Regions from separate parts of the Homo sapiens genome. Here all the other regions are linked to region 1. Evidence: promoter capture Hi-C in 16 types of primary human blood cells and fetal thymus (Javierre and others, 2016). All regions are on one chromosome and are shown on one strand. Each heading gives the region's core, a stretch centred on a gene start or on the middle of the fragment in contact. The rest is flanking DNA. Distances are from core to core; before and after follow the strand shown.

Region 1 (3,283 bases), core at 476-2,975:
CCTGAGTTCAAGTCTCTAGTCTGCCACTAAGTCAGTGACCTTGGGCAAGTCCTTACTTTCCAGATTTCAGTTCCCTCTTTGCCAAATGGAGTAGAATTGACTTTTAAAGGCTCCTTTTCAGGGCCTGGGAGATAGAAAACAGGAGACAACTACAAAGAATCCTTAATTTTTTAGGGGGGTGTGGGGAAACATTTTAACAAAAAACTTCAAAGATAAAATTGCAGTATTTTCACCAACTGAGTTCTGAAAGCCTACTCTTTAAAAAAAATCCTAAAAATAAGGAATAAAATACATTCGTTTATGTTTTTAGAAGTCTGTATCTAAATCCCAGGTTTAAGAACGGGGATGTGTGACCTATATGTTCCTTTATCTTGGTATCTCCTTAGATGCTATCCCTTAGGAGACACTCAATCAATAAAGATAATCCGACCCTTCCCCGAAAACACACCTCCACGGAGTGCGTGGAAAGCGAGCAAAAAATTTCACATTCATCAGCCTAAATGCACCAAACAAAGGAGGTGTTCCATTTCCTCCATGAAAACGGATCTCAGGATAAAAACGCAGCGACGTCGAGAAGCCCAAAAGACGACGCCGAGAACCCCCGGCCCCATGTTCCAATGGATTTTGGAACAAGTTCGGGTCCCACTGATACCCCATCCCCCTCTAAGCAAAGGCCTCACTCAATAAAGCCCAACAGGGCCCTCTCCGAAAACCACTGAGTCATGCAGAACAGCAGCTCAGCAGGCCCGGCCAGCCCTTCGCCTGCAGGCCCCACGCGGATCCCCGACCCCCGACCCCCGACCCCGAACGGCTCCTCTTAGGGGAGAGCTAGGGGGGGCTGCAACGGGCAGGGGGCGCGGCCGCCGCCTCGGCCTCTTTGTTTCTCTGGGTCGTGGTGCCCACGCCGGGCGCCGCCGCGGAGGCGAGCGGCCTAGAGGCCGGCCCCGCAGAGGCGGCACGCCGTGCATTGTTTCCCGACCGTGCTGTGGAGCGAGCCAGGGACGCCGGGAGCCAGGTCTCGGGCCACGACGACAGGATGACGCCTCCGTCTTTGTGCTTCCTGGGCTGGCGGGCGGGCTCCCCTCCCCCGGACGCCGCCATCCGCGGCCTGCTCCGGCTTCGCCATTGGCCCGCGGCGCCCCGGTCCCTTCACTCCCGCCCCCGGCCCGGCAACAAGGAGCCCGGCTCCCACCCGCAGCCCCGTATCACTCACCCTGCAGGGTCCCAAATGCGAAAGCCGGGTTCGCGCGCGAAGCCGGCACGATGAGGCCGGGCCGAGGCCTCCGGGAAGGCTGAGCCGGGCGCCCTGGTGCCGCCGCCGCGGGCCGGGAGCGGGTCGGAGCAGCAGGCGGAGGTGGCGCCGCCGCCGCCGCGGGGTCTTCCTTTGTTCCTGCAGCAGCGTCGAGCGTGGCCGGGACACGCCGGAGCTCGGGAAGTGGGAGGAGGGAAGCGAGGGGGGGCCGAGGAGGAGGTGGAGGGAGGACCGGCGGCCGCAGCGGCTAACGCTGCTCGAGGCGCTCGCCTGTCGTCGCCTCACGCCTCCACAGGCCGCAGGTTGGGCGGACGAGGAGGGCGAGCGGACCGCGCGCCGCGAGGCCTGGGGCCGTAAGGGCCCGCTGATGGCGCTCTTCGCCGCTCCTGCCACCGCCGGGGAAGCTGCGCGGCTCCCGGGAGCGAGCGAGCCCGCGTAGGAGATGCACACAGCTCCGCGTCCCGGCCGACTAACGCACTCGCCGCCCGGCGCCCGGGCTGTGAGGGAAAAGAGGGGGAGGGGGCGGGACCCGTGCGTCAGCGAAAACCCCGGCGGCGGCGGCGGCGGCGGGGAGCGCGGTGACGTCGCGGGCCCAAGGCCACGCCCCCGGTGCCCTGTCAGTAGGTCCAGGAGGCGGGGCCGAGACGGGTTGCTGTGCCTTCTCGCGGAGCCCAGCCACTGGCCTGGCAGTCGGCCCCTAGGGTGGAGCTGGGAAGAGCGAGTCCTGTGGAGGATGCGTTTCTATTTTTAACCCAATTGTCCGCCCTCAGCCTCCCTCCTTCGGATTTTCTCATTCAAACCCGTTTTTCGCCATCCTAGTTCTCACGCTTTGTCTCCAGCCCTGGGCAGACATTCCCTCCCCCAAGAATCGTAAGGATTCACCCCCAGAAAAGGAAAAGAATTGCCTTATGGCTTCGAGGTCTTTTCTGTTTATGAAACCTCCTCACTCCCCACACCCATTTTGAGCTCCGAAGTCCAGCCCGAGCGTGGCCCTGACGCAGCTGGCGGCGTGCGTTCGCTCGCCCAAGGTCACGGGTGGTTGTGCGGAGTGAGGAAACGCGCGGCCGCCCAGGGCTGCCAATGCCCCGGCGGCGCTGTTCTGAACAAACTGTTTTGGCCAGCCTGTGAAATCCCTGGAAATTGACGATTCCAGCAAAGCGTCGTGAACTGGGAAAGCACCAAATGTTCTACTCAAAAGCCGCGAAGGGACAAAACAAGCTAGACCCGAGGCCCAGATGAAGCGGGAGGAGGAGGCTTGCGAGAGGAAGTTCAAGGGGGGAGGTACTAGGCGGGCAGTTCAGGCACGAGGCACAGGTCCCCCATGGGTGAAAGGATGACTTTACCCGGAACACTGGGAACCTTTTCAGAGCACAAACAAAAAACATTTTCAACTGACCGCTCCAAGTGAATTTCAGTTCAACTCAAAATAACAAAATTACTAAGTCGGAAAGGACTTCTGAAATTTTCTAGTAAACAACGGTCTAACGAATACATAGAAATGATGTTTAGGGTTTATATTAGCCACATATAGAATGGAGAAGAGGTCCCTTCAGTGTTTCTCAAAGTTGGTAATCAGAAAAAAAATCACCTGGGGTGATTAAAGATTCCTACGCATCTCCCCTGGATATGGTTTTGGTTGTTCCGGGGTGGGAGCGGGGGTGGGGGGGGGCCCATATTGCGCTTCAGGTGGTCCTTATTTATAATCTGTATTTGGGGGAATGCTATACTGATAGCTTGAGCCACCACTGCCAAATCAAACAGTTCTCCGCCACAGTTAGCAAAGTACCTGGAGCATAACAACCTTTTGTTTTGTTTTTTAACAAATTCGGGTTTATTACTGTGATCAATTAATGTATTAGAGATTTAAGTAGTTTGGGTCACTGGTCCCACGACCACTGCAATTTATTTCCTTAAATTAGCAGATGAATTAGTAAAAAAAAAAAAAAAATAGCAGCTACCATTTACAGGCCATTTTCAGTGCCAACTATTTTCCATTTAGGGTCTCATTTTATCCTCACAGCAATTCACTGA
Region 2 (3,283 bases), core at 247-2,746, 810 kb after region 1:
CTCCAAAAGTGCTGGAATTACAGGCGTGAATAAAAGGCAAGGACGCTTGACCAAACTTGGGTTTGAGGACCAGCATAGGAAGGTTAGAGTGCTTCCTAAAATGTAGGGGGTTAGAGGCCCCTCTCAGTAAAGTCTCTCTTTGTTAAAAATGGATTTGGCACTATGGGATGTTAACCACTATTCTCTGTGGATTAATCTGCCTTGCACTGTTTGCTGATGGCTATGGGTGAAAGGATTAGGCGTGTACAGGATCATGGGACATGGGGAGCTTTTTCCTCCCCAAAGGGGGAAACTTGAGAGCTGATAGGACCCCTGGAAAAGATCCCTTCACAACTGTCAAGCGACCGCCTGAACTTTTGATTCAGTGTTGCTACAATGGGTGGGTCTTTCTCTGGCCTTCCTGAGCTACTTGCCTTCCCTACCTCATCACAGGCTATGCTTTTCTCTCTCTTTCTCTCCTTTCCCTTTCCTATCTTTTCTTTTACTCAGGGCAGCCATCTTTCCCAGAGACCACGTGTTGAAACTTCTTTAATCCACTTTGAATGGATTAAAGATGACAGAGCCTTACCAGGGGCAAGTGTGAGCCTTGCCAGTTCAATACTGGCACTAAGCTGAGTGACTAATGTCTATATTTTGTCACACGTATTTTGCTCTGCCCAGATGGCAAATGTTAATGTGGTTACCCCATGCAACCCCTTGGGTGGCACCTTACAATACTGAGAAGCTTTTGTTTGTGATTCCACAAAATGCCAGTCTCCTTAGTCACTCAGCTTAGTGCCAGTAGGGCGTGGCTTCCCCCCCAGCTCTCCATCTTCTTTGGGCGGCATACTTTTCAGCACTCTCTGTATTCCCCTGCACTGGCCTTCTACAAGCCTTACTCTGTCTATGCTTCCTCCTGTCTCAAGGGCTTTGGACTTCCTCAGCCTAAACACTATATTTTTCTCATTTCATTCTTGTTAACTTTGCTAATTCTTCAAATATCAGCTCAAATATCTCATAGACCCTTTTAACACTACATATCTCTGTACTATATTAAATGCCAGAGTTGTAATTTTATATTTAAGCGATTATTTAGTTAATATTTGTCACTTCTTCTAGAATATGAACAGGTTGTTTGCATAGACTATTTCTTTTCTTTCTTCTTTTTTTTTGCCTTTTATTGTTGTATTGCTATTGTCTGGTACAATAGCTAGCACTTAGTAAAATTATGACAAAAAATGATAGCTTGTGCTATTACAGGTTAGCTCAAAGTGCTTATTCTTTATGCTAAGGCATTTGGTGGACATCAAGAATTATACTCGAATACCAAGGATACAAGACTGGAGCACTGCTGTGTCATACGGTCTCTCTAGCTCTCTTTTCTTGGTTAGTCCAACATGTTGGGGAAAAGATCCATTCTAGAGAAGACACCAGGGCCACAACTGCAGCAGGAAAGTTGCTTTACCTCAAGGACTAGCATGCTTCTGTAAAATCTCTTAGGGATGGAGTGGTTCTACCATTTCAAAATAGCCCTAATTGACAGGGAGCATTTGTTTTCAGCATTTTGCTTTTTTGCTAATCATAAGATGAGCTGAATGAACATCATTGCTAAACTCTATTGAAGGTCTGAGCATAGACAAGATCCAGACTGATGTGAGACAGATTGAGAGCAAAATAGGACCTGAAAGATCGGGAAAGCACCATGGGAGCATCATGGACACAGCTTTCTTCTGGTCCCCTGGAATGTCCCTTTTACATTCACTTGAACACTGGGTTTAAAGAATCACTAATCTAACACTACTATTTCTAAAACTCCTTCAATAATGTATGTGTTACCTATATCTGCTGTTTGGTCTACGTTCCTTCATTCTTCCACATTCACAAACCAAAGATTAGGCTTTCTTGACTTTCTGTAAATTGAAAGTTGTATTGTTATTTATGTATTCATTGTGACACACAAAGAGCTCTGGGAATGAATGTTAACTAAGCAAAGCTGTTTCACCCTCTATTTGTTGAATGAAATTTGTCTTTTGTTTTTTTTAATCTAGTGACACCTAATTGCAACCTGTATTGTCTTTTAATTTATAGAAACATGAATACTTTTATGAAAACATTCAAAATGCTTTCTTATAGGACATCTGATAATTTGAGAAAATAATTTAGGTACTTAGCCAAAAATTTTATACAGTTCTAAAAGTGATGACTAAGTGGCACCTTAAACTAATCCTTTTACTCAGAAACAGAACTAGGTGATTATGTGAGTATGCTGATACGAATCAATAGGCCTCTAAAAGCTTAAATGTGAGGAATAGCAGTTGAGTCCTTGGTTGCAAGCAAGAGAAACTGATGAGCGGACTTATGAAAGAGGAACTTATAGAAGCATCTAAGAGTGTTGGAGTAAAGGACTCAGAGTGGGTGGAGGATTGGAAGCCCAGGTTGAGAACTAGGCAAGAAATTTAGGAGTTACGAAGTACAAGAAGCAGAGGGAAACAAACGTACAGCCATTTTCTCATTGCTCACACATCCTAATCAGGAGACCACCACTCTGCTGTCACCAAGACCTCTGCAGGGAAATATATCCAAATCTATCTCTTCCTGACAGGTGGTTCTGGCTACAGGAATCACTTGCAATTGCAGTCAAATGGTGGCTGAAGCTGAAAATGGAGGATGGAGCAGCTGAGGGCTGGCCAGGCAGCTCTTTCTTTATATAATAATCTCAGGGCCTGTCCAAGGAGACTAGATTCAGCGTTCTCCCTGCATGACAGTCTCAGGGAAGTAAGCCCACTGAGGCAGCAGCCCAGGGCTTCAATACAAGTGTTCCAGCTACCAAGGCAGATGCTACACCATCTTCTGCCACCTAGTCTCACAAATCACAAATGATTTGTGTCACATTCTTTTGGTTACAAGCAAGTTACAGGCTCAGTTTCAAAGCAACAGTAATTAGACTACCTTTCAAAGGGTGAGTAATGAGGTCTTAGATGATTTGGAGAAGAACAGAGAGATCGTTGGAACCATTTAGAGGAAACACTATTATCCCTGTATAAAGGACAATAATATATTTAATCACATTCCTTGTACTTCATTTGCAATATCTTCCATAGAGTGGCTATGAAAATTCGTAGATCATTGTTACTTTAAAAAAGAAAGCCATGGCTCTCACATTCTTATTATTTTAATACAAGAAATAACTGCCTTGGGCAATACTTTTTGGGGGATGTTGACAAGCCATGTTCAATGTATTAGCTACATTGTGCTGAAGATTATACTCAGTAAATGAAGATTGAGATTAATCATGATTATTTTC
Region 3 (3,283 bases), core at 327-2,826, 790 kb after region 1:
GTACTTTGCCAAGTGATGAATTTTAACACTCATTTTGATGATTCTTCCTTATCAAAGCCTTGGATGAAATGATGAAAATGGAAATTTTGAGTGCCTGAAGCTGCTAGAATTGCTTTTAAAGTATTGGGTGTGCCAATTAAGAAGGTGGAATATGAAACTCCATGTGGCAACCGCAATTGCATGAAACTAGACTGTAATGGGAACTAAAACCTTGTGCAAAATTGCGGGTTGTTACTTTATCAGGAAGCAATTTTAAGTCTATCAATTATATTTAGGAAACAGGCTGCTTTAAATGAATGGAAAAAGTATTGGTTCTTCTCACAGATGACAGAATAGTAATAAGAGCAATCCCATGCGAATTAAGTGGGGATGATTTCTGCTTTGGATATTATTTTCTTCATGCATTCAGTGTTATTACTTGCAACTCCAGTTACTTTTTAGCAGGTGAAAATGGAAAGAGTTTGTCTGAACATGCTGTTGAGGAATCAGTTTATGGAATCAGTTTATGCCTCATGAGTCATTTATCTTCATATCAAGAATTTAAAACTGCCAAGATTGTCCTCCCAACCTCTCTCACAAACATTCATGAGAGTAGTCTCTAGAGGGGTGAAACAGAATGGTGTAGATAGACAGATCAGTGTAGACCTTGAGCAAGGCCTCTGAAAAACATCCCCAGACTAAAAGGATCTGTGATGGCATTTTGTGTGTGTGTGGCCAAAACAGAGAACACATTAATTTTCAATATACTTAAGATCTTAAAAATATATGTCTCATTAAATAAAAATATTGCCAAGTCATGATAGCAATTCAAGAAATTTCCTTTAAGATAGAGTTTGCCAAAAGAACATGCATGTTACAATTGCACCTCTAGGCTTCCTGCTACAACAAAAAAATCCAGTATAAAATAATTCTTTTCTGGGTTTTTTGTGTTGGGTGGGAAAATATGTAGGACTACTATTTAGACAGCTCAAATAGGAAGAAATGTGAAGATAGCAATTACTTCAATGCTGAGTACTTTTATATCAAGAAATAGAAAAGGAAACTAAATTATTCAGGGAGAAATATCACCTGGATATCTTTTTACAATTAAAATTTTAAATCTGAATTCACTTGTACAGATTGGCACAAGTTATTTTACCTTATAAATGTAATCATTGGCTGGGAGTGGTAGCTCACACCTGTAATTCCAGCACTTTGGGAGGCCGAGGCGGGCAGATCACTTGGGGTCATGAGTTCAAAATCAGCCTAGCCAACATGGTGAAAACCTGTCTCTACTAAAAATACAAAAATTAGCCGGGCGTGGTGGCTGGTGCCTGTAATCCCAGCTACTCAGGAGGCTGAGGCAGGAGAATTGCTTGAACCCAGGAGACGGAGGTTGCAGTGAGTCGAGATTTCACCACTGCACTCCAGCCTGGGCGACAGAGAAAGACTCCATCTCAAAAAAAAAAAAAAAAAAAAAAGCAATCATTAAGCTTTTCATCTAGCCATTACTTTTGTACAGGCTCTCATTAATTCCACATAGATGGTCTAATGGTCTACTAAATAGTATTCTAATCCTCCATCTTGTCTATCTCTTAGCCATTCTCCATGATAAAGGATGAATGGTCTTTCGGAAACATAAATGAAACCATGCTGCTTTAAAAAAACAAACAAACAAAAAGAAACCCATTAATGTTTTCCCAAAGCTTTGTGGACACATTGAAGCTTCTTGTTTCAGCTTCTGCCAACATTTCTCGCTCCAGCAAACTTTCTTCTGCTTCCCAAATATGACAAGCTTCTTCTTTAACTTTTCTGCCAGGTTAATCTTGACTCATTTCAAGAGAGGCTTGGGTCAGCCAGGGCCTACTCTAAGAAGTTTCTTTAGCCCTTATGTTTTCCTATGGAGAGCACACACTAGCTTTAAGTCCTGAGGGTACTTAAGATGATATTTCAATGTTTTTGTACTCTTAGTGCTTGGCATATGGTGGGTGGTCTACAAATTTAGAACAATGTAGTGAACCACAAACTCCTCTCTTCAGCCTGTGTGCTTACTTGTAGTAGTTGTCTGATCTCTAAAATTTAGAACTGAATATGCCAAGAAAGAGTTCAATTTCAGAGAGGAGGGTATGGTTTCATTTTAAGTATAAAAGCTTCCTTTAAAAAAAATTACGTCTTACATTTTGTTATGCTCCTAAGTGTAATTGATCCTGGAAAGTAAGCGCAAGGCTACTCTCTAATGCTAACTCTTATGTATGTAAGAGGTGAGGAAGGAGAGGTTGTGTGTGGTGCATTTGTTTTGTAAAAGCATCTAACTGTTTTCTTTCCAGACACTTTTTCAAAAATGGCAATGGTATCAGAATTCCTCAAGCAGGCCTGGTTTATTGAAAATGAAGAGCAGGAATATGTTGTAAGTAGAGTGATAATAAAATTATGATTACAATATTGAAATAAAAACGAATATAAGTAAATGGCCATTAATTTATTTCTCTCTCATTCTTAGCAAACTGTGAAGTCATCCAAAGGTGGTCCCGGATCAGCGGTGAGCCCCTATCCTACCTTCAATCCATCCTCGGATGTCGCTGCCTTGCATAAGGCCATAATGGTTAAAGGTAACGTGTTTCCTCAAAACAGTTCCCTCCTGGACATTTCAGAATGGCTATTTGAATGACTGTCAAAAAACAGACATGTGCAATGGAAAGAATCTGTTTCATTTTGAAGATAAAAACATTTCTTTGCCAAACGAAGATGTAATTATTTACTTAACACTGAGGAAATTGTGTTCACATCAGTGGAATCTCTATTGTTACAGCAGATATTACTGGCTCATTTCTAGCAGAAATTCCATGCTGAAATTAAAAGCTCTGTTCACATATAGAGTTGCAACTAGTATCAAACACTGCAACACTGAGGGCCAGGAAAAGTTAATTGTCTCTTCCTTTCTCACTCGAATGAAATGTCATTCTCCCAAGTGCTTCCTTGATATGTAGTATAGCATCGATTTTTTAGGCTGATATATAATTTATATTTCTTAATTTGTTAAGAAGTTCTTTTGGAGCATCTCAGTAATGAATTATTTTATGTCAATTGATGATGAAGAAAATTGGTGTTAAAGGCTGTTGGCCCTTTATTTCCAGGTGTGGATGAAGCAACCATCATTGACATTCTAACTAAGCGAAACAATGCACAGCGTCAACAGATCAAAGCAGCATATCTCCAGGAAACAGGAAAGGTAAGTTAGAGTGGTAAATTTAGATATTTAATTTCAGCATAGTTATACTTAACCATGGATTCGGAAGCACAGTTA
Region 4 (3,283 bases), core at 404-2,903, 780 kb after region 1:
AGACATGTCATTTGAAGTCATAAGCAAACTAGCCTTAGTTCAGATATGTCATTTAATTCACTTTGCCTTTAGGGAAGAAAGTCTAAAATTCTGTGAGTTTCAGTTCTTGTTTATCATCAGAAAAATGGAAATGGTAATAATTTCCAACATGATAGTTCTGAGGTTCAAAGAGGCATTAAAAACACGTCAGATGCTCTAATGAAGTTTCTAAGAATATGGAAGCATTAAATATTAATATAAATAAGAATAAGGTTACTCAAAAAACTGAATGAGAAAGTTAAGAAATATATCATGTGAGTTGCAACTGGGCTTTCATAAATGCAAAAATTTATAGAAAAATGAGAGGACCATATTTACTGGGAACAGGATGAGCAATTGTGCATAAATGAGAGTCAAGAGCATTTTGAAAATTGTAGAGAAACTGGTTTCATTAGGCTGAGGATATATGTGAAGCTGAGGGTACAGAATGGGAAGGGAAAAGACAAGTCATCACCATTTTAGCCTTAACTGCAAATTGAAAAGGAAGAAAGAAATTAAATATGCTGTCTTCCCATTTTTAGTTCTGTTTAGATACTAAGACACGTGAAGAAACTTTTATTTGTACTTTATGAATTTTGTGTTCTGTGTTCTTAGAAATGATGGAAATAGTTACTCCCTGTACCTGGAAAACATGATTTCATTTGAAAATAGGTACAGAGCTAGGAAAACAGGCTCCTAAAGAACATGGTGTTTGCTTAAACTGACAAATTAGAAGTAGGAAAGATTTTATTGTTTTGCTATACATATTTTTATGTACATTTTCAGCATTGATAGAATACATGCACACACATACATACATCCAGTTTTAGGTAGAACCATAATTCTGAAATCATAATTCCCTTTATACCAGTGCAATGGATATATGTGAAAGAGAATCATTATTTCAGGCAGCAAAAAAATAATAAGACAAGATCAACTATTAGGAGAGAAAGAAGATTTTAATATTGATTTAAATTGGAGGATATTGATTAATGTTCTCAGTAATATGTGAAAAGAAAGAAAAGCAAGGTGCCAGTCTTCATAGAAAGAATACATTATATTTTAATGGAACAATGTCTTCCTGATTTCTTAAAATGAATGTTTTTGATTTAGATTTTGTTTTTCTCTTGAAGAAAATATAAATGTAATATTGCATACCGATCTGCCAAGGCTTAGGGCAATTTCGTTCTATTGTCTAAAACCTGAATCAAACCTTCTTTTGGAGCCATCAATGACATATATATTGGTTAGAGTTATAACCAAAAAGTGATTTGAATTAATACCTTCGGTAAATACACTATTGACTTAAGTGTAGATTATAAGAACTCCGCTGAACATAAATCTCAGTTTCCAGATGAGAAATGGTCCTTTTCCTAAGCGTAAAAAAATGGACATTCCCAAGTACTCTCTGTCTCTATATACTTTATGTCTCTATGGACCTTCTAGAACTTTGAGGTAGATTGCAACCTTTAATTGGACACTCCTCATCTTCTCTGACTACAAATGGACCTCCAAACTAAGCAGTAAACTGGTAGAGACTGGAGAAATCTTCAAAACCAGTCACGAAATTTCCAACTGAACATAATTTTAATAAGTTCTCCTCTCAAATTTGCTACCTTTGGGGGGCTATCTAGTTGAATGTACATTTTATGGAAGGTCATAAAAATTCAGATCTAATCTTTATTTTGTTTCTGATTCTCAGTAGCCATAGTTATTCAAAGAAGCACACCTTATTCAAAGTCCATCAATCTAGCCCAAATGGTATTTTACATTATGTTATGATTGAGCTGGGCTTTAAAAAGTACCTGGCAGTCAACCATGACAAAATGAGAAATTTATATAATGGGACTTCATAAATAGTGAAGTGCTATACAAATGAAAAGGGCTATGTTCAGCGTTAACAAAAATGAAAGACTCACAAAAAGATCACATTCATGGTTGTACATTGTCATAAAATAAACTATGGTTGCCTAACTTCATGATATTTCATATAGAATAGGTATAAATGAAACAAAATGAGGATTTATGAGCATTATAAAAAGATAGGCCTTATTTATATTTTCAAATTTTGTCATGTTATAGTTGATTATGACAAGTAGTTACATGATTCACCACTTTTGCAAAAACATCACATGCATAAAGAATTAAGCCAATTACTTTTAGTGCTGGAATAGTCGTGAGGTGGTATTTATGCTGATAGTAAGATTTTTTTTTTAGATTAAGTCAGTACCAACAAAAGACTTTATTCTGTGTCTGTTGCTACCCAATGGAAGTAATGTACTTACTTTTTATGTTCTTTCGAAATTCCATTTTAACCATAGTTCACTGCTTAGATTACAGAATAATGTTTTTTAGGAATACCAGGAAGAAAATATAGACAATTTATTTTAGATAAAACTTTACGGATTTGAAATCTTTTCAGATAATAAAACTGGAGATTCCAAGTAAGACAGTGAGTGGATGTCATTTCTGAAAGAATGTTGTCGACTTCCATTATTTTGTCTAAGAAGTATTCCTCCCTGATGTTAAGAACAGCCTTATCTTCTTCTAGGTAAAACAAATCACGTGGTTCTATTGAGGTCTTCCCATCACAATCATCAACTCTATGTCCTCAGTGGATTGTTTTAGGTATAGACCACTGACTCAAGCTAGATCAATCAATACACATGCACAGGATTTTTACTTTAATTTTCTCAAACAGGGGAAGAAACAATGCTTGCCTCATAAAGAAGCTGCGAGATGTAAGGATAAGAATGTTGGCTGTCATGTTGCTACCATGATGAGAAAAACTAGTCTGATAAATGCAGAGATAAGAGAAAGAAAAAGAAACTTCTAGCAAGATTCAAATTCCTGGTTCCAAAAGAGTCTGAGAGCCAAGTCTAAATGTGGAGTTACAAAATATACTCCAGTAATTTTCCAGTACATTTCCCCCTTTCTGACTAAATTTGTTGCAATTCAGCTTCTATGCTAGTAACCCTGACTAATCTGGGGAATTTATATTTAAAAATACAAATCAATAATACTACTGTGAAAGGAAAATCTTGGGGCCCCCAAATTACTAAGCTAAGGGAAAAGTCAAGCTGGGAACTGCTCAGGACAAACCTTCCTCCCATTCTATTCAAGTCATCTGCTCTCTGAGATAGTTGTGTATTCTGATTGCCTCCTTTGGAAAGGCTTATCAGAAACTCGAAGAATGCAACCATTTGTTTTTCACCTACCTGTGACCTGGAAGCCCCCCTCCCTGCTTTGAGTTGTCCCCACCTTT
Region 5 (3,283 bases), core at 517-3,016, 760 kb after region 1:
TCTCAGAAATAAACAATATGATTTTAACCATATTTTGAATATTTTGTATTCATTTCAATAAATAAATGTAGAGGTCTTAATATGTTCAAATTATTATGTTAGGCCTTTTGGGGATTGGGGAGGGTCAGATAGTAACTTAGGCCTTTCCTTTCATGTACCCACATTCTTAAACTACATTTAAAAACAGAGTTACAGTTACAGGATCACCTTCATCAGAGCCAATAGGTAAAACAATAGAAATTATATTGTAAAAATAGGAAATTTTAAGTTAACATTTCCCTCATAGTAGAAAACATATGTTTTACAAACTATGTCATCACTGGAATATGATAAAATGATACAGCAGTTCCTTCCCACATTTTCATATGAATCATTCATATAACGTAACCTTTCTCCCAGTCTTCCAGTTGCAGGTCAGGGCAAGGGCGCCCTTTCTCACTCTGGAAACTGCTTGATCATTGGAGCAGCACCTTAGGTAGCTGAATGACTCAGGATTGCCTAGGGGATTCGAGGATTAGACAGCTTAAATGTATCCTGGTTAATTCTTGATTTGAATTATTCCAATTGTTGGTTTTCATTAATGGGTAGGAAAATCTTTTTCTGGAAACTTTTCAACCCAGTAATGTGAGCTTCAAGATCCTGATAATATGAGTGGATTTTCTAGCACCTACATTAAACTCAGATTGCACAATCAAGTTTTCACTTAAATGTAAAAGAACCCAGAGACAATGTTGAGGAGATGGAGCCTATTTTTTCCAATGCATTACTACATATTTAATACTCTGATAAAACTGCTGGGTTTCTTTCTCATATCAATATATGTCAAACCAATGTGTTATATGTATTACAAGATTCAATGTGCTCCATGTTCCTCCGTTATCCTTGATTTTCTCTTCAAATACTTACTTCAAGAGGAGTTATTCATTTAGAAAGACCATCCTGGCTAACACGGTGAAACCCCGTCTCTACTAAAAATACAACAAAATTAGCCAGGCGTGGTGGCGGTCGCCTGTAGTCCCAGCTACTCGGGAGGCTGAGGCAGGAGAATGGCGTGAACCCAGGAGATGGAGCTGGCGGTGAGCCAAGATCGCGCCACTGCACTCCAGCCTCGGCGACAGAGCGAGGTTCCATCTCAAGAAAAAAAAAAAAAAATTGAAACACTCTGAAAAGATCTAATGAAATTGCAGGTAGGGTAGATGTACAATATTTAGGGTCAAATAAACAGCCTTCTTTGGCAGAATGATTTTAAAATTTTTTTCATAGTTGAAGCACCATAAGTATGATTCATAAATATACTAAATAGAAATACCTTTAGTGAAAAGAATATTGAGCTTCATGGGCTATGACTTAGGTTAATTGAAGTATCATCCAGGATTCCAACAGAATAAGGAATGACATACTGAAACAGGATAATTGATGAGATTTCTATAGAGAGAATTTCTTAAAGGTATGGGATGGGGTTTTTCCAAAAACAATGAAGAACAGTACTGTGTCCAAGGACTAGTGCTAGCAAGGAGCTATTACTAACCACAGGCCGGAAAGACCAGGGAAAGAACAGTTATCATAGCCCAGAGAGAGCAGCTATATGGAGAAGGCCATTCAACTAAAATCTCCAAATCTCCTGCTTGTGCCTTCCTTTGGCCAAACTCAACAGGAGGTTAGAGAGAAAGGAAGCCATCAAGGTAGCCCCTAAATATCAATTCTCCAGAATACACAGCAGGGTAAAAAATTGTGTAGAGTCAATTTGAGAAAGGAGGAAAAACAGAAACATCTAGCAAATTATACAATTAAAACAGTTAAATGGCATGGTTGATTTTTGGCTAAGCTGGACTCCATGCGCCCCTCTTATCAGACAGCATTTCTTCTCTTCTTGTTTACCCATAGGCTCATACATTCGACATTGTTTTCATTTACTGATATATGTGAATGCTTTCTTGGGGAAGAAGAAACATATTTTGGAGGTTGGCAGGAGGACCTTAAGTAGTAAAACAAATCAAAGTTGGAATAATGTCTATCTCTTACATGGTTCATTGGATTCATTTTGAGACAACATGGAGAAGTCAGTAAGATACAGTGAGAAACCAGGGGATGAATATAAAGAGATTTCAGAGCCCACGTGTAAAAATGAGGAGTTGAGGTAAACTGTTTTCCCTATCTCTGCATGGAATCCAGGAATATTTTGGCAACTCCAAGACTGGAAGCTACGAAAGCATCTGGAAACAATACTATTGGCACAACTATTGAACTCATGATGATGAGTGGCAATGGTAAGGCTTTCTCAAAGGTCTTCATGAATAGTAGAATTAAACCACAAATGAGACCTGGTGGAAAGAAACACCAGGACAGACATAGTGGCATGTTGGTAATATTTAACAACCCCTCACCAAGGTTAGGGAAAAGCCCTAGCTTGTCATGTTTTCTACCACAGCCAATTTCAAGTTACCAACAATCACTGAGCTTGGATTTGGGGATTTGGGAAGAAATGTGCACAACTGGATCTGCTGAGCTGCTAGGAAGCCACTCTAGCACAGTACTGGCTACAGGCCCCATATCCTTATTGTAGCCGAAAACTGACTTCGAGTACATATGAGATGCTTTTTAAGTGACCATGCACTTTCATGGGCATTACTTTCTACCAGTCAAGTGGTGGTTGCTGTCATGACTTAGCAATAAAAATAATATACTACTTAATCAATTTCCCAATTGTCTCATATCAATCTGATCTGAGGTATTTGGGCAACTTAAATTATATGTCATAATTCTAAGAATTTATAAAGGTATGCTGATGGCCTTTATGTGTAAAATAAAAAAGAATACAAATGGGATGGAGCAATACAGTGTCTAACACAAGGTCATATGGACCCTGTATATTTGTTTCTTTTGCTACTTTGCAACCACCAATATTTCTCCTGCTTTGACTTGGGTTGTTTCCCTTTTGAGTTTGCTTTAGTGACTCTCTCTTCCTTACTTAACATAATTGTTTCCTTAACTTCTCCGGAATTTTTTTCAAGGTAGTGGGTGACTGTTCATGCCTGGTTTGACTCAACAGTGGCTTCTGAATTTGCATAAGTAAGGGAATATGAATTGTTCTAGCTCCATCTTCTCTTTCCTGGTTGTAACATTCCCAGCTTCAAATAGACTCATACCTGCCTTTGTATCCCCTCAGATTATTGCTAGTCAGCTGTGCCCTCTGATTCTGCCACCTGACAGGTTCTTGAAACTTCCTGGCAGTCTGCTTCAGGTTACATAGATTATGACACATCCTACTGAGAAATTAAATTGC
Region 6 (3,283 bases), core at 375-2,874, 740 kb after region 1:
AATGGGGATCAGCCATTCAAAGAATCCAAAATAGCAGATAACTTACTTATAAGTGCCTGCATGGAAAAGGGATGGCTAGGGAACCATATCTGCAAAGTAACATGCTTGTTTCTTCACACACACACACATACACACACACATTTTAAGATACTTTTCCATTGTATTCTTTCCCTAGATCTTGGCTAGCCACAAGTATCATGAAAACATTATATATACATACGCACACACACACAACACATATATATATACACATATAAATATATATGTAAAATTATTTCAGGTTCTGAGGGCTTTCAAAATACTACTCAAAGTTTTTATGAAGTTAATGATGGTTTTATTTCATTTGCTACATTATTCCTCTGCTGTTCACCCTAAAATTAGGTCTGGTTATTACCACTCAAGATCATGTTTTATCTTAATTATAATCATTGATTCAATAAAACTTTAAATTGCAATATACATGTCAGGCCATTTTCTACAAAAGTCAGAGGGAATAGTCTCCTCTTTCAATGATACAGCATCTATAGTTTTGAATATTCTCAAGCTAAGGCACAATATGAATCTAGTGAGTTACTTATCTAGAAAATGTGCTTTATCTAAAAGTCAGAATCTATATCTCAACATGACATTGTGAAGTGCTTCTTAAATCTTCATGAGTCAAAAAAAAAAAAGACCCATAAAAGAAAATGGCAAATATGCATTTTGGTATCTATGAAATAAATGTCTTCAAATATATTCCTTCTGGATGTCAATCAACATGGTCGTTTCAGTTTGTTAATGGACTGCCTTGTGCATCAGAAACTCAAATATCCGAAGGATATTTACTTGAAGGTAACCAGATTAATGTTATTAAGAGTTATTTTAGTTATTCTAAAGCCATGAGAAAAGATTACATTTGTAAGCTTGTTTTTATTCTCTTGTTCTGTTTCTACATCCAAATCCCAGGACATCATCTTCCCTGGGGATACTGTTGCATTTGGATGGCTATGTGCAAGTTTTAAATTTTCCTGGACTTTTTCCAGCTCCACCATAATTTCTTTCAGTTCTTGGGCAGCTGATATAAGAGGAAGAATCGGGAAGAAACTTATAAGAAATTTTCATTAAAAAAGCATTGTTAATATTTCATGAATAAAAAATTATAGAATTTAGTTTACAAACAGCATTGATCCAATGTGTATTTATTAATTTGCTTATACATCGTTCCACTCTCATTCATTCAATATTTATTGAATATTTACTACACGATGAACACTTAGTTTAGAATAAAAAATGCAGTGATGAACAAAAGACTCAGTGTGTCTGATAAAGTTTATATTCTAGTGAAAAAGGATAGAAGCAAATGACTGAACACATATGTTAAAAAATTGAAAGATTGTAATAAATATTAGCAAAGATGTAAATAGAGTACTGTGCGTATACATTACTGGGGAGATCTGATTAGGTAAGGTTGGTTAGAGGAGTTTTCTCAGTGGGAACAACTTTTGAAGTGAATCTTGAAGAATGAATAGAAGTTGACCATGCTGAAAATGAGAAGGTGAGTGTGAGAGAGAATGCTTCAGATGAGAGAACAGAAAGCTAAAAGGCCCTGATGGAAGAAATACGTTGATAATATCTTGCAACTTATGAGCTAGTGTGACAAGATCTCAGTGAGTAAAAGAGAGAGGCTCAGGCAGTATGACAGGGCCTGGATCAGGCAACTTAGTGCCTTGTAGGAAATAATAAAGAGTATGGGTTTTACTTGCAGTCCATTGAAAGCCATTGGAGGGGTTTAGGCAGAGTTAAAGCAGATCTCTGTGACTGCTGAGTGATGAATAAATTGGTTGTGCCAAGACAGGAGCGGGGAGACCATTCAGAAGTGGTTGTAGTTTACCAGGCAGCAACTACAGATGTTGGTGACTCAGGTCAGAGTAGGGGATGTAGAGATGGATGGATTTAAGATATATTTTTGACAATTAAACTTACACTTTTAAAATTCCAAATAAAAGAAGAATCAAGAATGAATGACTGTAAAATATTTGGGCTTAGTAAATACGTAATATCCATACTCTAATTTTTAGATGGATAAATTAAATTTTACCTCATAACAATAAAAAGGTACTCATATTTGAAGGACTAATTATTTTTCTGATTAATCTTCCCACAGTGATATATTATGACATAGTTCCCTACATTTAGAGTTCCTGGAACTATACAAGGAAAAACATAAGGAAGCAAAGCATATGAGAGTCACACCTACTATTACTATTTACTGGCCATCTATTGCATTTGTAACTTGTCATGCCCCTTCTTCTCAGGATCTTTTGTTAAGTTACTTTATTATATATGATTTACATGCCCCCCAAAACTGCAAGCTTTTAAAGTATACAATTCAACTAATTTTAATAGACCAATATATCCATAAAACCACCACCACACACAATGTATGAATTATTTTAATTAACCCCAAGTTTCTTGTGCTTCTTTGCACATTAAGATCCCACAAGAAAATGTTGTATGTATATAGTCACATGTATTTTTTTTAAATTCAGAGAAAAAATAATATTTTAAATTTACCCAGATATTTATCATTTATAATGATTTTTTCTTTCTTCCTTAATATATGAATTTTTCTCTACTACCTACTTTTTCTTCATCCTCAGAACTTTCTTTCAGCATCTCTCCTGGTGCATGTACAAGGACAATACATTCTCTTAGTTTTCTGATATCTGAAACATGTACTATTTTGCCTTCACTTATGAGGGATTTTTTGCTGGACATGGAATTCTGGGTTGTCAATTATTTTTTCTTTCAGTACTTAATTTTCCCACCTTTCCAATTTATAAATATTTTTAAAGATTTTCCATGAACTTGAATTGTGTTCCCTTCTGTGTGATGTATTGTTGTTCTTTGTTCCGCTTACTTTCATGATTTTCTCTTTATCTCTGGATTTCAACCATCTGATGAGGATGAGCTTAGGTGTGACTTTCTTCATATTTCTTCTGATAGGTGGTGCCAACCTTCTTGAACCTGTGAAACACTGACTTTCACGAAACTTGAGAAGTTTATCCATTATTTCTTCACATTTTTTCCTACCACTTCTCTCTGCCTTTTTCTTCTGAGAGTCTGATTATAAATATTAGAAATTTTCATATACTTTTACAAGATTTCTGAGGCTCAGTTCTTTCTTTTTAAATTATGTTTTCTCTTTTTAAAAATTGTCTAATTTATATTAATCCATATTAATTTTACTAACTCTTCTTTATATGATTTCCATTCTGCTATTAAGCCTATTTAAAAAAATTAG
Region 7 (3,283 bases), core at 507-3,006, 680 kb before region 1:
TTATGGACACTGAAATTTAAATGTCATAGAATTTTCACCACATAAAATATTACTCTTCTTTTTCTTTCTTTTGTTATATTTAAAAACATAAAAATGATTCCTAGCTCAGAATTGCAGGCAGAGGTTTGCCAACTCGGATTTTTCAATTGTGATCATGAAGCCAGCTTTTCTATGGATGAACTTTAAAACTTAATTTTTCATATTTAGACTAATTATTTTGTCCCTCTTAGGAAAATTACAAAAACACATCTATAAAGATGTTTTCTGGTCCACCCTTTGCTGTATTTTCAGATATAACATGTTCACAGCTTGCTATGGCTGATAATTTTGGATGTCCTGTGGGGCACAGTTCCTCATTTAGAAATCACAGTTCAGTCAGTCATTCTCTAAATTTACCACATAAAAATAAAAAGTGTGCGTGCCCTTATCCACAACACCAGGGCCTACTGAAGCATCCTTTTATTAGTTTTTTTCTCAAATTGAAGATAAATAAGGGAAAAACAAAAAAACCTTTTCTCTTCCAAATGACTCAAATGGTCTAGCAAGTCTGTGAACAGCATTTTGCCATTTGTGAGCAAGGAACCAGGAATGGAGTTCCTTTATTTTTTTTCCCTCCATGACCTTTTGTTGAAAACTAGCTTAAATAGTGTCTGCTCACATTTCCAGCACACTGGGTTATAACAGTAATAATGTAATCATAACTAACAGTAATGATACAAATCTGCTGCCCTATTAAAGGTCTTTACCTCCAGGGGAATTTCTCAGGTTATTAAACATTGTTTAATAAGTATCTGGAAACCAAATAAGAATTCCAGAAGTAAGCTCCAACTCTGCATGATGAAATTAACAAACATTGTCATCATTGAATCTATGTATTGTGTTTATCTACTAGGAACAACAGAAAAAAACACTTGAACTAACTAAGCTCATTCCTTCTTACTGAAATGCTTCTCAACCAGACACATCCAAACATGACCTCATCTCTTAAGGAATGAAAACCTACTGTAGTTATCTAAAGCACTCAAGCCTCGATCTGTCACTTCATTACCTTCCCCTCCTCAAGACAAAGTAACCCACTTTAATGGCATGAGGATGTGTTGTCTCTTGATGAAGTTAGAGAACAGAGGAGTCATAAATCCTCTCTTCCCATCCCCGAGTCTAAACATCAGCTTAGAGGCTGCTTTGCAGTCATAGTCCATGAGATGGTGCGTCTGCCTTTCATCTTCTTGCCAGCACTCTCTTCCAGCCTCTGAAGATAATATATGGCATGCTGACTCAGGTGGAGAGGCAGGAATCACAGCAAAGACTTAAACCCTAGTCTGTGGATACATGAGAGCCCTCTGTGTTGCTCGTCAGCTGGCTGATTTGTGGACGACCACATTTTTGGAGCTCAACCAACTGCCTCACCTGATGGAAAATGCTTATGAACTTATAAATCACCTTTGAATATATTTTCTTGGTAGAAATAGAACAGATTGCTAGCTCCCAATTCCCTGAAATGTATATATCAGTGTATAGAACCAATTTAATGATTTGAGAGGACTGAGGACTAAAAACTGTATTAAAAGCTTCTATTAAAAAGAGACAATAGAGAAATGCTTTGTTTAGGGCTGGGAGTTTTGTGAGTAATATAGGAAATGCAAATAAAAATAATAGGTAAATGCAATTTTGTTTTAGTCACAAAAAAATTACAGACTGGAGTTAAACAGTGGGCCTATTATATTAGTGCCGTGGTTCCGAAACCTGGCTGCATATTAGAATCATCCAGGGAGCTTTAAAAAAAATTCCAGTGCTCAGGCTGCACCCAACACCAATTAAATCTGAATCTGGGGGGAAGGGAGTAAAGTCCAGGCCTCTATATTTTTTTTTAAAGCTCCTCAGGTAATTCCAGTGTGCAGCCAAGATGGAGAACCTCTGCCTTGGAGAATACAGTCCCTGCCCTTCTGAAGCTTACTCTTACAATATTTACTTGGTGGATTCTGTCCACCAAGTGTCTTCCTCACTTCCGTCAGTAACTTCTTTACAGCTGGAATCTGGAATTTTAAATTTATAGATAGAGATATAAATTCACATACAGGCCAGGCGCGGTGGCTCATGCCTGTAATGCTAGCACTTTGGGAGGCCAAAGCAGGAGTATCACTTGAGGTCAGGAGTTCAAGACCAGCCTGGCCAACACGGTGAAACCCCACTTCTACTAAAAATACAAAAATTAGCAGTGCATGGTGGCGGGTGCCTGTAATCCCAGCTACTTGGGAGGCTGAGGCAGGAGAATCACTTGAACCTGGGAGGTGGAGGTTGCAGCGAGCTGAGACTGCATCACCTCACTCCAGCCTGGGTGACAGAGCGAGACTCCATCTCAAAAATAATAACAATAATAATAAAATAAATAATAAATAAATTCACATACACACATATATAAAATACATGCACACATATTTTTATTTAACTTAGGCCCTGATTATTAGTATATAAAACAGAAAAACCAAGTGCCTTGGTAATTTACATATCTTCTCCAAATCTTTAAAGAACCAAGCTCTAAAAAACACACGTAAAGATATTTAAGTCATAAAACACACACACACACACACACACACACACACACTCTAATGACCTTCAGGAACCATAATCCAATAATATATTTAATAGGTAAGATCTCATTCATCAATATACAAAAAAAAAAAACAAACCAGAAAACAAAAAACTAACTTTGATTAAGACATGTGCCCTTAGTAAGGGCACTTACAATTAGAAAGGTTTATCGGTAGCACTTTGAGGTAGCATATTTTGTAAAGTCACAGGGCTGCTCTGCAGTTTCTCCTGGATACAAAGGTAGAGGCCATCAGCCTTTGCCCCTAGAAGAGGAAAGTGAAATTATCTGTACTCATTGCCAGTGTCAGCCTGAACACACTTTCTACCACCCACCCTTGGCCATCCCTCCTCTACACTTTATGCGTCGGGGGTTTAGAACAACGTAAAGGCATTTTGCTGCTTCTTTCCTCTTGGTACGGCAGCATCCCAGGCTGTGGAGCCAGTTGCCTCTTGCCGCATGTGATTCACCAGCAGGAGACGCATGCACCCTGTGGAAAGGGAAGCTGGGCATCACAGCATGCTTTTTAATTGGCTTTAACATTTCATTAAGTAAGAGTGACTCATTCCTGCAAGGCTTTAAAGAGGTTCATTTCTGAGTATTCTCTCCACGATTCTGACCCTAGAAAGCGCTCCTTTTTTTCCTCCCTGGGTGTAATCATTTTGGGGTATCATTAAGCTTTCTGGGATTTTCCTG

The links. The method cuts DNA at HindIII sites, captures the fragments that hold promoters and counts their contacts. A CHiCAGO score of 5 or more calls a contact.
Region 2: a contact is called between a fragment that was not itself captured here and the fragment with the promoter of ZFAND5 in region 1, in 1 of 17 cell types (activated CD4 T cells). The highest score is 5.6, in activated CD4 T cells.
Region 3: a fragment that was not itself captured here is called in contact with the fragment with the promoter of ZFAND5 in region 1 in 3 of 17 cell types (total CD8 T cells, naive CD8 T cells and activated CD4 T cells); the score reaches 10.5 in total CD8 T cells.
Region 4: a contact is called between a fragment that was not itself captured here and the fragment with the promoter of ZFAND5 in region 1, in 5 of 17 cell types (neutrophils, naive CD4 T cells, naive CD8 T cells and 2 more). The highest score is 8.1, in neutrophils.
Region 5: a contact is called between a fragment that was not itself captured here and the fragment with the promoter of ZFAND5 in region 1, in 6 of 17 cell types (total CD4 T cells, naive CD8 T cells, neutrophils and 3 more). The highest score is 7.6, in total CD4 T cells.
Region 6: a contact is called between a fragment that was not itself captured here and the fragment with the promoter of ZFAND5 in region 1, in 1 of 17 cell types (total CD4 T cells). The highest score is 5.2, in total CD4 T cells.
Region 7: a contact is called between a fragment that was not itself captured here and the fragment with the promoter of ZFAND5 in region 1, in 1 of 17 cell types (total CD8 T cells). The highest score is 5.9, in total CD8 T cells.

Annotation. Positions count from the first base shown.
Region 1 is chr9:72,363,483-72,366,765 of GRCh38, forward strand. ZFAND5 (zinc finger AN1-type containing 5) reads right to left here and starts at 1,726. Exons shown (of 7, transcript NM_001102420.3): 1 at 1,214-1,726; 2 at 1-124. RefSeq lists enhancers at 729-1,432, 1,433-2,137 and silencers at 745-1,574, 1,585-1,964. The HindIII fragment of the contact is 8,298 bases long and covers 1-3,283 here.
Region 2 is chr9:73,176,000-73,179,282 of GRCh38, forward strand. No RefSeq gene overlaps it. Among named protein-coding and RNA genes, the nearest start is that of ANXA1, 26 kb to the left of the region's middle. The HindIII fragment of the contact is 1,549 bases long and covers 723-2,271 here.
Region 3 is chr9:73,156,216-73,159,498 of GRCh38, forward strand. ANXA1 (annexin A1) reads left to right here. Exons shown (of 13, transcript NM_000700.3): 2 at 2,307-2,386; 3 at 2,480-2,588; 4 at 3,114-3,208. The coding sequence starts at 2,321. Among named protein-coding and RNA genes, the nearest start is that of ANXA1, 6.0 kb to the left of the region's middle. The HindIII fragment of the contact is 213 bases long and covers 1,471-1,683 here.
Region 4 is chr9:73,138,624-73,141,906 of GRCh38, forward strand. No RefSeq gene overlaps it. Among named protein-coding and RNA genes, the nearest start is that of ANXA1, 12 kb to the right of the region's middle. The HindIII fragment of the contact is 5,813 bases long and covers 1-3,283 here.
Region 5 is chr9:73,118,673-73,121,955 of GRCh38, forward strand. No RefSeq gene overlaps it. Among named protein-coding and RNA genes, the nearest start is that of ANXA1, 32 kb to the right of the region's middle. The HindIII fragment of the contact is 5,368 bases long and covers 1-3,283 here.
Region 6 is chr9:73,100,760-73,104,042 of GRCh38, forward strand. All of the region lies in intron 2 of LOC105376081 (a long non-coding RNA gene), which reads right to left. Among named protein-coding and RNA genes, the nearest start is that of ANXA1, 49 kb to the right of the region's middle. The HindIII fragment of the contact is 1,449 bases long and covers 901-2,349 here.
Region 7 is chr9:71,680,950-71,684,232 of GRCh38, forward strand. CEMIP2 (cell migration inducing hyaluronidase 2) reads right to left here. Exons shown (of 24, transcript NM_013390.3): 24 at 2,417-3,283. Among named protein-coding and RNA genes, the nearest start is that of CEMIP2, 86 kb to the right of the region's middle. The HindIII fragment of the contact is 381 bases long and covers 1,567-1,947 here.